4 separate regions of the Homo sapiens genome follow, and regions 1, 3 and 4 are each linked to region 2. The links are contacts of gene promoters, found by promoter capture Hi-C in human tissues and cell types (Jung and others, 2019). All regions are on one chromosome and are shown on one strand. Each heading gives the region's core, a stretch centred on a gene start or on the middle of the fragment in contact. The rest is flanking DNA. Distances are from core to core; before and after follow the strand shown. Region 1 has its middle 55 kb from the start of SYT1. Region 2 holds the start of SYT1 (synaptotagmin 1). Region 3 overlaps SYT1 (synaptotagmin 1). Region 4 has its middle 38 kb from the start of SYT1.

Evidence for each region. Contacts are between HindIII fragments. The study calls those that stand out against the background at their distance.
Region 1: a fragment that was not itself captured here is called in contact with the fragment with the promoter of SYT1 in region 2 in 2 of the 25 tissues and cell types used here (pancreas and spleen).
Region 3: a fragment that was not itself captured here is called in contact with the fragment with the promoter of SYT1 in region 2 in 6 of the 25 tissues and cell types used here (adrenal gland, dorsolateral prefrontal cortex, hippocampus and 3 more).
Region 4: a fragment that was not itself captured here is called in contact with the fragment with the promoter of SYT1 in region 2 in 4 of the 25 tissues and cell types used here (dorsolateral prefrontal cortex, mesenchymal stem cells, spleen and 1 more).

What each region holds. Positions count from the first base shown.
Region 1 is chr12:78,808,870-78,811,582 of GRCh38, reverse strand. No RefSeq gene overlaps it. Among named protein-coding and RNA genes, the nearest start is that of SYT1, 55 kb to the left of the region's middle. The HindIII fragment of the contact is 3,928 bases long and covers 1-2,713 here.
Region 2 is chr12:78,863,524-78,866,378 of GRCh38, reverse strand. It overlaps SYT1 (synaptotagmin 1), which reads right to left and starts at 1,605. Exons shown (of 11, transcript NM_005639.3): 1 at 1,270-1,605. RefSeq lists a silencer at 2,762-2,821. The HindIII fragment of the contact is 3,235 bases long and covers 1,241-2,855 here.
Region 3 is chr12:78,904,148-78,906,874 of GRCh38, reverse strand. All of the region lies in intron 1 of SYT1 (synaptotagmin 1), which reads right to left. It overlaps LOC105369863 (a long non-coding RNA gene), which reads left to right. Exons shown (of 7, transcript XR_007063385.1): 7 at 1,719-1,851. Among named protein-coding and RNA genes, the nearest start is that of SYT1, 41 kb to the right of the region's middle. The HindIII fragment of the contact is 5,273 bases long and covers 1-2,727 here.
Region 4 is chr12:78,825,094-78,828,112 of GRCh38, reverse strand. No RefSeq gene overlaps it. Among named protein-coding and RNA genes, the nearest start is that of SYT1, 38 kb to the left of the region's middle. The HindIII fragment of the contact is 4,062 bases long and covers 1-3,019 here.

The DNA of each region.
Region 1 (2,713 bases), core at 165-2,664, 55 kb after region 2:
TGGTTTGCTGCACAGATCAACCCATCACCTAGGTATTAAGCCCCTCATGCATTAGCTATGTATCCTGATGCCCTTCCTCCCCCGCCCCCCATGACAGGCCCCAGTGTGTGTTTTTCCCCTCCCTGTGTCCATGTGTTCTTATTGCTCAGCTCCCACTTGTGAGAACGTTAACCATTGTATTTTTTATTTTCTCTTTGTCCCCTATGTTTATTTATTCTTCTACTAAAATAGTTTCTGTATTTTTTAATGTTTAAGTCAGTTTTTATTAGCTCTGATACTCGAAAATCAATTTATCCAAAAGAAAATGCTTTGCTTAGACTATTTTTTCCCAGTAACTTAAAAATATTGCTCCACACAATATTGGAAATTTTGATGCCAATTATTTTTCTTTAAAAAATGATTTGGTTGGCCTTTGTGTTTTTTGTTGTTATTTTTGTTCATTTTTTGTATAGAAGAACAGATTTTCTAAAAATTCTACTGTGATATGTTTTGGACTTGACCCTTCCGGGTTAATTTTTCTAATTACAAAGATGGACCTCTTTAGTGGAAAAATTAGGTGCTTTTTTTTGTTGTTGTTGTTGTTTTTGAGACAGTCTCGCTCTCTTGCCCAGGCTGGAGTGCAGTGGAGCGATCTCGGCTCACTGCAAGCTCCGCCTCCCGGGTTCACGCCATTCTCCTGCCTCAGCCTCCTGAGTAGCTGGGACTACAGGCGCCCACCACCACGACGGGCTAATTTTTTGTATTTTTAGTAGAGACGGGGTTTCACCATTTCAGAACATTTAAAAACGTTTAGCTTTTTTGTACTATTTTGTTTTATTTTTACATATTCAAATTCCAATTATAGGTATGTTAGATCTCCCGTGCCTGCCTTCCAGATCTATATCTTTTATTCATATTTTAATCTATATTTTCAAATTTTATTTTTGCTGTTTTTTGCATGTATCATCTCTATCACTGTACATTCAATCATGTTGATTCTCCCATGACCATTTATTATTTTAATATTCACTTCAGATTTGACTTTTTATTTTTCTTCAATTAATCTGGTAAATAATGTATTTTTCATTTCTACTTTCAGAATTTCTACTTAAAATTCAGTAGTTTGAATTTCTACTTCATTGTGGTGTATCTTATCTCTAACAATTGATTCAATTAAGTTTAATTTATGTTGATGTTGTGTATCAGTTTTCCTCTGATTCATGGTTGGCATGTTTTGGGAGTGTTGCTTCAGCTAAAAAGTTTTGATTCCTACTATATCTTTTCTTCTCATAACAGCTTTCTATGAATAATGTGCTCCTTTTACTGTTGCTGATAAACTTTATAACATTCCCCTGGAGCAGCAATTATAGATAATTCTACAGAGGGAAGATAAAAATGTTTGGGTGGCCAGACGAGGTGGCTCACGCCTTTAATCCCAGTACTGTGGGAGGCCAAGGACGGAGGATTGCCTGAGGTCAGGAGTTTGAGACCAGTCTGGCCAACATGGTGAAACCGGTCTCTACTAAAAATACAAAAAAATTAGCTGGGCATGGTGGCGTGCTCCTGTAATTCCAGCTACTTGGGAGGCTGAGGCAGGGGAATTGGCTGAACCAGGGAGGTAGAGGTGGCAGTGATCTGAGATCACAGCACTGCACTCCAGCCTGGGTGACAGAGCAAGACTCCATCTCAAAACAAACAAACAAACAAACAAAAAAGTGTTTGGGTTATTTTGTCTATTAGTTCAAGATTAGCTTCTTCACAGTAAGAACAGTTTGTTTAAGCAGTTGTGTTGGGAGAAGTTTGGTTTTATTTTATTTTATTTTACCCAGTAAACGTATTTATTTGCCTGTGAGTATATCAGCTATTTGCAGACAATTTGGAAAGACCAGGATGGCTCTGAAGAGCTGAAATGAGCTCTAGGATGAATATTTGGAGTTACCAGAAAACCACAGGAATTCCCTTTTCACTTCCTAAAATCAGAAAAGGTTTTGCCTTCACCCCCACCCCTACCAAAGACCATTAGGAGGAGAGCCTTTTTAGAATATAATTCATCAGTCCAGAAAGTTTAGAAAAAAAGTGGTGTGAAAACACTGCCTAAATTTAGTTATTTTCACCTGTTTTACTCAAATTCTCAAATGCATACGGCTCCACATTTTACTCCTGATAAACTCCTGACTGGTGCTCTAAATCATGGCCGGTGTGGGGGCACACATTTGTTCTCTCCAAGGCAATGGCAGAAACTTAATCCCAAGAGTTATTTTCTACTTTACCTTTCTACAACATTGCCATGCCCCATGCTAAAAATTTTATTCTCTGCCCTTCCTCCCCATCCCCTGACACGAAACACATACACTAGTTCAAAACAGAACCCCATAAGCTTTGTGAGGTTTTCTCTATTTTGAGTGTTTTCCATTTTTCATACAACATTGATCTTGTGGGAGGGAGTCAGCCAATGTTCCAGCACTAAAATGTTGTTCTTACAAAATGAAGACTTTAAGTCCCAGTAACTTTTATGAAGGACTATTACAACTAGAATAATTCTTAAGTCTTTGTGAAAATAAGTTATTAGGAATTGTTTCAGTAGAAAGTAATTCATGATAGAGGAGATTTTTATAAATTCTGTAATTTCATCTTGGTGATAATTTCAGATTTTTAAAAAGTTGCTTATTTTACCAACATATTTGCTTTACTAAACAATCTTAACAACTATACTATAAATTGTACTTTTCTTTAA
Region 2 (2,855 bases), core at 356-2,855:
TCTAAACTTAGTTCCAGTACAGGAGGATTCTTGTCCAACTGAGCCTCCATGTGCCTTCTAAAGGGAGTGCTGAAATTGTATAAACATCATGTTTACATCCATTAAATATTGTCCTATTAAAAGAAAATAAAGCCAGGCATAAGTTTGGTATCCAGACAATAAAATGCAAATAGTACAAAGGTAGAATAAAGTGAAAATTCTACACAAATGTAGCTTCCATACAAAAGTTAAACAGTTGCTTTATTTCACGAAAGGGTTAATACTGGAGAAAGTGAATATCAACATGTACACAAAGCTAACTAGAAGATTAGCTTTCTCAAAGTAGAAATCCAAGCCTCCCTATAAAATTGTTGTCCCTTGCAAATGTTTTGAAACTTTACATTTTTTGATCCCCCAACAACAGGCCATACCAAGAAACCTCAGGAAAGTAATAATCTATTTTAATTGTTTTTTTTTTTTTGTTACTCAAGAAAGCTTTCAAAGTTCAGATATTAACACTGATGTGCAATACCAAATTGTTAGCCCCACAGGACAGATGGAAACAGGAAAAGTCAGATGGTTGGCACTCAAAAGCAAAAGCAATTAAGCAGTTGAAAGTGGGTTGGATTGTCGGTTTATTTTTGTTCCATTTGAACGAATCAAGTGAGAGACATAGACTCTTGCAAGGAGGAAATCAAGTCAAACTTGACGCTTCCTCTCTCTGACAGCCCAAGCTGGACTGGTTGTCTACTCCCCTTATTCAGTTTAATTGCTTTATGTGCTCTGATTTTCGCAGAGCTTGTATTCTATCTTGTTTACGTTCCCCCCCCCCCCCATATCCCTCTCCCCAACAGAAAGAAATCTTTCTCCTTTCTTCACTCCCCCTCTTTCCTCTAAGAAAGGCAATCCTCTCCAGGAGGAGAAAGAAACGCTGTGCGTGCTTAGGGTGGGAGGAGGGCGAGAGGGGAGGTGTGGGAGAGAAAGAGAGAAAAGATTGAGATTGGGGGTGGGGGACGGAGGAGAGAGAACAAGAGAAGGAAAGAGGAAGCAAGAAGATGGGGGATGCCCAACATCAACTCCAGGCTCTAAATCACGGGCGCTGTGCAAAGTGCTTTTCCAGGAGATGCACATGTAGTCTCATATTTCTCACAATAGGCCACCCGGGGATCCCTCCCTAGGTCTCAGACTCCCACCACTAAAACCCAAGTGTATCGAGAAGAAAATCTTTGGGATGGATTCGAGCAGATAGGCACCGCCGAGGTGGCCGCGCCGCCAGTCCCGCTTCCTTACCTGGAGGGCGGACCGGGAGGTGGTGCCGGGTCTCGGTCCCCAGTGCTCTCCCCGCGTGGACCGGCGCGAGGCACACGCGTACTCTCGCTGCCTCCGCTCTTGGAGGGGCAGCCTGCAACACAAAAGGGGTGTGTGGGTGTGGGTGTGTGGGAGGTTTTCCAGGGCCACCAGCTGGTCCCACGTGGTCGCCCCCACCCTACACACACCCCTTCGGGGCGCCAAGCCCCCCTCTCGGCTGAGCACCACCCTGGGGACTTGCCCGGGGTGCAGCCTCAAGTTGCCGCTGCTAACTGCTGCTGCCGCTGCCGCTGCTGCAGGAGGAGGTGGAAAGACACTGGGGGCAGTACTCGGTCTAGAGCATCCCCACACTGCAGCTTCTCCAGGAATCCCTCCAGTGAGGAGGCGGCCGCCCATCATCTCCGAGCCCCAGCATCCTGATTGGCTCCACCTCGGGTACGCTGCGCCAAGGAGCCAATCCCCGCGCACTAATAATAGGTGGATCCGTTCAGCCAACATCGCCCATCCCAGTTCTGTTAGTGTCTCTCCATCCCCACAGCGGACAGGGACCTGGGAAGCGGGGTGGAGGCGGGTTGGGGGAGGGGGTGAAGTAAGAGGGGAACAGATCCCAAGGAGACACAATCAAGGGCGTCTGATAAAACCTCTAGGTAGACTCAGGAATGCCCCACAAGCTGTTCAGCAAGCAGTATGCACAGGAGAAAGAGAGCATAATACAAAGCTTTTTTTTTTTTTTTTTTACTCTCAATCAAAACCTACCCTGATACTGAGCATGCCCAGACTGCAACAGCGACCTAGGAGTTTCGATGTGTGTGGGTTCGCCAGCTGTGGGTTTTTGAAAAGCTGGGACCGGGGACAGGAGAGGTAGAAGTTTGTCTTTGGCCATTTAACCCGGCGGAGTTGTGAAAGCTGGGTAGGGTGGGGATGTGAAAGGGTTCCGCACAAGTGTCCTCAAACTGAGCCGCGGGGAGGTGGCCCACCTGGCTGCCGGAGGCTCATCATGCTGTTCTTCTGGGGTTCCGGGTTGGAAGCGGGGGCGGGATAAGCTGAGCTTTGCTGGAAGCCTGGGGACTTCCCGCGAAGGGTGCGGTGGAGCCGAGATGCGGGAGAAGCAGCTCCGTCCCATAGGTGGGGCCGGGAGCGCGACTCCACCCATCAGCGGCGGCTGCCAGGCCGTGGAGAGTGCACTGGGAGTTTCCATTGCAGCGACCAATAAGTTTGTACACTTGGGTCAAGTGCAACATTGTTGGAGATGCTTTTTTATTTTTTCATTTTTATTTTTTGCCACCTCCCTCCCCCATCTCTCTCGACCCCTTGCCAGAGCAGTGACGACTAAAGCATAGATTCTCTCCCTGCTTCCTCTCTTCCCAGCTGAACCGTTCTGCTCGGAAGTAAGAAGCTTTTCTCTTGTGAGGGCGGTGGTGACCTGATTGTCTCTAAGCTCTCAGGCAATTTATAGCTTGGTAATACCGAAATACCGAACAGGAAGGCTCAGCGGGTGGGGGAAGGGACCGCGCGCCAGGCTAGGGGCGGGAGCGGAGCCCAGCTGGGAGAGGGGCCCGTCCATTATC
Region 3 (2,727 bases), core at 61-2,560, 41 kb before region 2:
TTGACACAGTAGGCACTAAAATAAATGTTTTGGTGATGAGATGTTAACCTGAAAATGACAGAATGATCAATACGGCCTAGGGATACCGTGGTGCTCTAGCAGAGTAAAGATAGAGCCCAGAACACTGCTTCTTCCTGGCAGGACTCTGGTCATTTCTTACACCAGGACAGACACCCCCAGTCTGTCCACGACCTGCATCAAGACAGGCAGAATGAATCCTCTGTTTACTCTAATTTCCACAAGAGGCCAGGACTTCCAGTGTATCCCTCACAACTTGAATGCTGTCGCATGAATTTGTGGCCCACAGACAACTCATGTATTTACTGCTGTTACGGCCTTTTTCCCTTTCTTTTCTCTATAGAATTTTAGAGTCTGACATACTAAATATTTTACAACTTAGTACATCTATCTGCTTCTCTCTATTATCCCATAAACTAAATGAAGGTTGGTATCTTTTTCTGTTCTGGGCACTGCTATATCTTCAGCCCTTAGAATCAGGTACTTGGCAGGTACTCACCAGTATTTGTTAAATACTTGAATGAACTTCCACTTGTCATGAGGAAATACATTTTTCCCTCAGAACATCTTCCTACTTTTTGAATACATACACAAAAGCCTACAATAAAATCAATCACCAGAACTTAATATTTGATTTCATTTTGTTTTTTTTTCTATTTCAAGACTTTCTTAATGTTATAGAAAATAATTCAATAAATCATCTTCTATTGAAAGGAACCTCTTTTATAATTGTACTTTCTAAATACACAAATTTCTTTATATTTATATATTCCATATCTTTATTTACTGGCTTGATTGGAGTATGCTAAAAATAGTGCTTTTATTTCTTCAGATTCCTTGAAATATACTGACAAGGAGACTTACTTCTAAATTACAAATATAATTTTGATGTTACTTCGGTGAAGGGAAAACTCATCAGTGTTTATGAAATATGAGAAGCCCTTTGGGGGAAAAAACTTCCTTGATGCTGCAGCACATATAATTAGAGTAATTTTTCTCCATATTAGAGTTTTAAATAGATTTTACATTATTTACAACACTTTTAATAGCCTTGTAATGTGCTGTAATTTAAAAAAAAATTAAAAAGGTCAAAAAACTCTATCTTTACTTTTCCTAGGTCATTTCCCTTAAAAGGAATAATAGTCCAATGTTCAGGTATTTAGGTTTATTTTATTGAAACTGAAATAAAATGAAAATAAACAACAGTAAGAAAATCAAAATCCAATATATTGTAGATGCCATGTAATAAAAGGTTAGGGGAGAAGAATAGATGGTTTACCTTTCTCCCAACCATTCCTGCTTAAGGAATTTTAGTAAACATAAATTGTATGACTTTGAAGGAAACATTGAATGTAAAGCTGATATTAGTGAGTGTTCAAGACAATTTAGCTATTACTATTACAACTGTTTTCCTTCAATTACCACCGGGACACCACTGTCAACATACAAGTTAGATAATTTGGATAGGGAGAGTTTCCAATTCTCCATGAAATTGGTGGATTCTTACTCCTAAAGCTGATCTTAATGGCAAAACCCATTGTATGTTATGTGGAAGTGTGTAGGTAAGTCAGTTCCCGCCCCCCGCGGGATTTCTGTACTTCTACTAAGAAGGAACTATGGGCTGGCCCCAGATAATTAATCTCTTTAAAATCATGGCAACATGTTACTAAAGAAAGATGATAAACTTTTCTGGCCCACAGAAAACAGGAAGACATTTCTCAAGATTAGAATGGTCCTGGAACAAAAAATTGCCTTACCAAGTAATCAGTGCCTACTATTGGATGTATTCAGGTAAGAACAATAACAACAAAAAAGCTACAGTTTTATGAGATATCTTAGGAGATTGCTTAATTCATATTTGGCCTTCTTATTATAAGATGATTAAATACAATGATAATTGAGACTCAAGATAGGACAATATTACAAACTATTAAATGGATTTAAGTGAAAGTTGATTCTATTTAAACTTTGAAATCTTTTACCAAAAAAATAAAATCTCTTCTAAAACATTTAGTTCTATTATGCCTAATTGCCAATGACAATTATATATATAATTTGATCTTTCAGGTTAAAATTGTATGTATGTTATTAGAACACTAAGAATGTCCACTTGTGTATTTTTATGTTGTATAGACTATGGCTCATATAATATTACTCATGTAATGGAGCAGATTTTGCATCATTTTTGAACAATGGAATATGTATCTCTTCCCTTCAAATGTCAAATAACATTATCTTGCAGCACTTTTCTTTTTAAAAGTTTTCCATATAAAGATAGTTTTTCTGTGTTTCAGGTTGACTTACGTATCATGAGCTACTCTAGAATTAATGAGTTTCATCCTTGGGCAGAGTTAGGTCGAGATACTCGAAAACTGGTGAATAGAGGTTATGATGTTTTATACATCCATGTTCTCCAAAGATCCAGTACATTATTTTTTTCCAGAGTAGGTGCTCATTGAATACTTACTAAAAAATTCAAATTTTATATTTTTACACGTTAATAGTGTCTCTCTTCAATGTATCTAAGCTTTCCATTAGCTTTCCAATGGATAAATCACATGTAACTTAATATAGAAGTATCATAAGGCTAAGTCATATGCAGATCATGACCAATTTAAAATCTCACAAATATTTATAGGAAAACATTGTCTATAAAAATATAAATTCAAATTCAATACACACTAGTGTTTCCAGTTTGTTTTTTAAATT
Region 4 (3,019 bases), core at 257-2,756, 38 kb after region 2:
GGAAGTGAAAGATCCCTACAAGAAAAATTACAAAACACTGTTCAAAGAAATCAGAGATGACACAAAAAGCAGACAAACATTTCATGCTCATGAATAGGAAGACTCAATATTGTTACAATGGCTATACTGCCCAAAGCAACTTACAGATTCAGTGCTATTCCTATCAAACTACCAATGACATTTTCTTCACAGAATTAGAAAAAATTATTTTAAAATACAAATGGAACCAAAAAAGAGCCCAAATAGCCTAGGTAATCAAAAGAACAAAGCTGGAGGCATTATGTTACCCAACTTCAAACTGTACTACAGGGCTACAGTAACCCAAACAGCAAGGTACTGGTATAAAAATAGACACATAGACTAACAAAACAGAATAGAGAACCCAGAAATAATGCCATACACCTACAACCATCTGATCTTTGACAAAGCTTACAAAAACAAGCAGTGGGGAAAAGGCCCCATATGCAAAAAATAGCACTGGGATAACTGGGTAACTATATGCAGAAGATTGAAACTGGACCCCTTCTTACACCATCTATGAAAATCAACTCAAGATGGATTAAAGATTAAATGTAAAACCCATCACTATACAAACCCTGGAAGATAACCTAGGCAATACCATTTATGGCATAGGAACTGGCAAAGATTTCATGATCAATGCACCAAAAGTAACTGCAACAAAAGCAAAAATTGACAAATTGGATCTAATTAAACTAAAGAGCTTCTGCACAGCAAAGAAACTACCAAGAGAGTAAACAGTCTACAGAAGGGAAAAATATAGTTGCAAACTATGTATCTGACAAAGATCTAATATCCAGCATTTACAAAGAACTTAAATTTACAAACAGCAATGAAAATCCCATTAAAAAGTGGGCAAAGGACAAGAACAGACACTTTTTAAAATAAGGCCTACATGCGGCCAACAAGTATATAAAAATGCTTAATATCACTGATAATTAGAGAAATGGAATCAAAACCACAATGAGATACCATCTCAACCTGTCAGAATGGCTATTACTAAAGTAAAAAAATAACAGATGCTGATGAGGTTGTGGAGAAAAAGGAACACTTATACACTGCTGGTGGAAGTGTAAATTAGTTCAACTATTGTGGAAAGCAGTGTGGTGATTCCTTTTAAGAACTGAAAACAGAACTACCATTCAATCTAGCAATCTAATTACTGGGTATATACCCAAAGGAATATAAATTGTCCTACCATAAAGACACCTACATGTGTATGTTTACTGCAGCACTATTCACAATAGCAAAAACATAGAATCAACCTGAATGTCCATCAATGGCAAACTGGATAAAGAAAATATGGTACATATGTAAGATGGAATATTGTGCAGCCATAAAAAAAGAACAAGATCATGTTCTTTGCAGGAACATGTTTGGAGCTGGAGGCCATTATCCTTAGCAAGCAACCACAGGAACAGAATACCAAATATAACATGTTCTCACTTATAAGTGGGAGCTAGACATAGAGTACCTATGGACACAAAGAAGGGAATAACAGATACCAGGGCATAGCTGAGAGTCAAGGGTAGGAGGAGGAATAGGATCAGAAAAAATCACTGTTGGGTACTAGGCTTAGTACCTGGGTGATGCAATAATCTGTACACCAAACTCCCATGACACAAGTTTACCTATATGACAAACGATACATGAACCCCTGAACCTAAAACAAAATTTTAAAAAAGAAGCAACACTCTCAAATATTTATAGCACATGTGATTAGATGGAGATGCCATGAGTTTTATTTTTCATATATTCTAATTTTTTATAATTATTATTTATCACTTGTCAGAAAAATGAAGTAAAAAGGAGGGAAAAGAGAAAATAAATACACTAGAAATCAAGTATTATAGACAGGTATTTCTTGATGTTTTCTGAGTATTCACTATGTGTGGGTGTTGTTTGAAGTGCGTTAGTCAAATGAAATTGCCTAATTCTCATAATTAGCCAATGAAATCATTATTATTATCTTCCAAGGTTACACCGCAAATAAATGGCATATCTGGAATTTGAAGCTTGGTCTAACTCAGAATCTGTAGTCTTAACTTCCAGTTAAGGATAAGGAAGGGAGTAACAGCTTCTGAAATTAAAAAAAAATTCATTCATAAATTCAAACAGTATTTAATTAATTTAAAAAGTGTAATATTTGTTAGCTATTTGAAATGGCTCATTTTGGGTTTAGTCAAACATATAGAGAAAAATGAATATTTGTATAAAAATTAGCAAGTTACTAATGGAATGTAAATTGGTGAGCTACAGGATATATATTATGCTAGAGATGATTATTGTGTCCTGGTGACATGTCAAGCCACTCCAGACAAAAAGTGGCCTTAATAAATCAGAATTTCATACACATGGAATCCTTCTGAGTTTTACTTCATTTGTTTAAACCTACAGATATAAAATGTTACCAGGGCTTTGTGTCTAGATGCCATTTTGATGTGGTCTAAAATGCTTTTCTCTCTGTTTAATTTAATGATATACACACATTCCATAAAAATTAATAAAATACCTGCAACTCTAATATTATGTGGTGGGAAGAACATGGGCTTTGGAATCCTTGGAATTAAATTTGTTTGGGTTTGAATTTCAAATTAAAATTTTACTCTAAGTTTGTATTCATAAAGCATATCATTTGGATATATGATGTTTTAATGAAAGTCCAAGTGAAAACTTCTAGTATTTCCGTAATGTTCAGAATATAGGCATTTGCAATTCCATAGAGCCAAATAACTCAATTGTTATTTTCAAAATTAAGAATCTTGGGTATTTATTATTTATTAGTTCTAACAAAAAGGTTATATGACTATAAGAGTGATCAAAGTCACAGCTGACACTTGAAAATGCCTTTACACAGCAATATACCTGATTCTGTTCTCAGTGAAAAAAGTTCAGGAAATTTAATTTAGGATGCCAGGTGGCACAATAGGTTATACATTAACTTGTCCCCTCTGGAAAATTAAATTTGAATTTGGCCCTGGTCACAAATGAAATGAGTCAT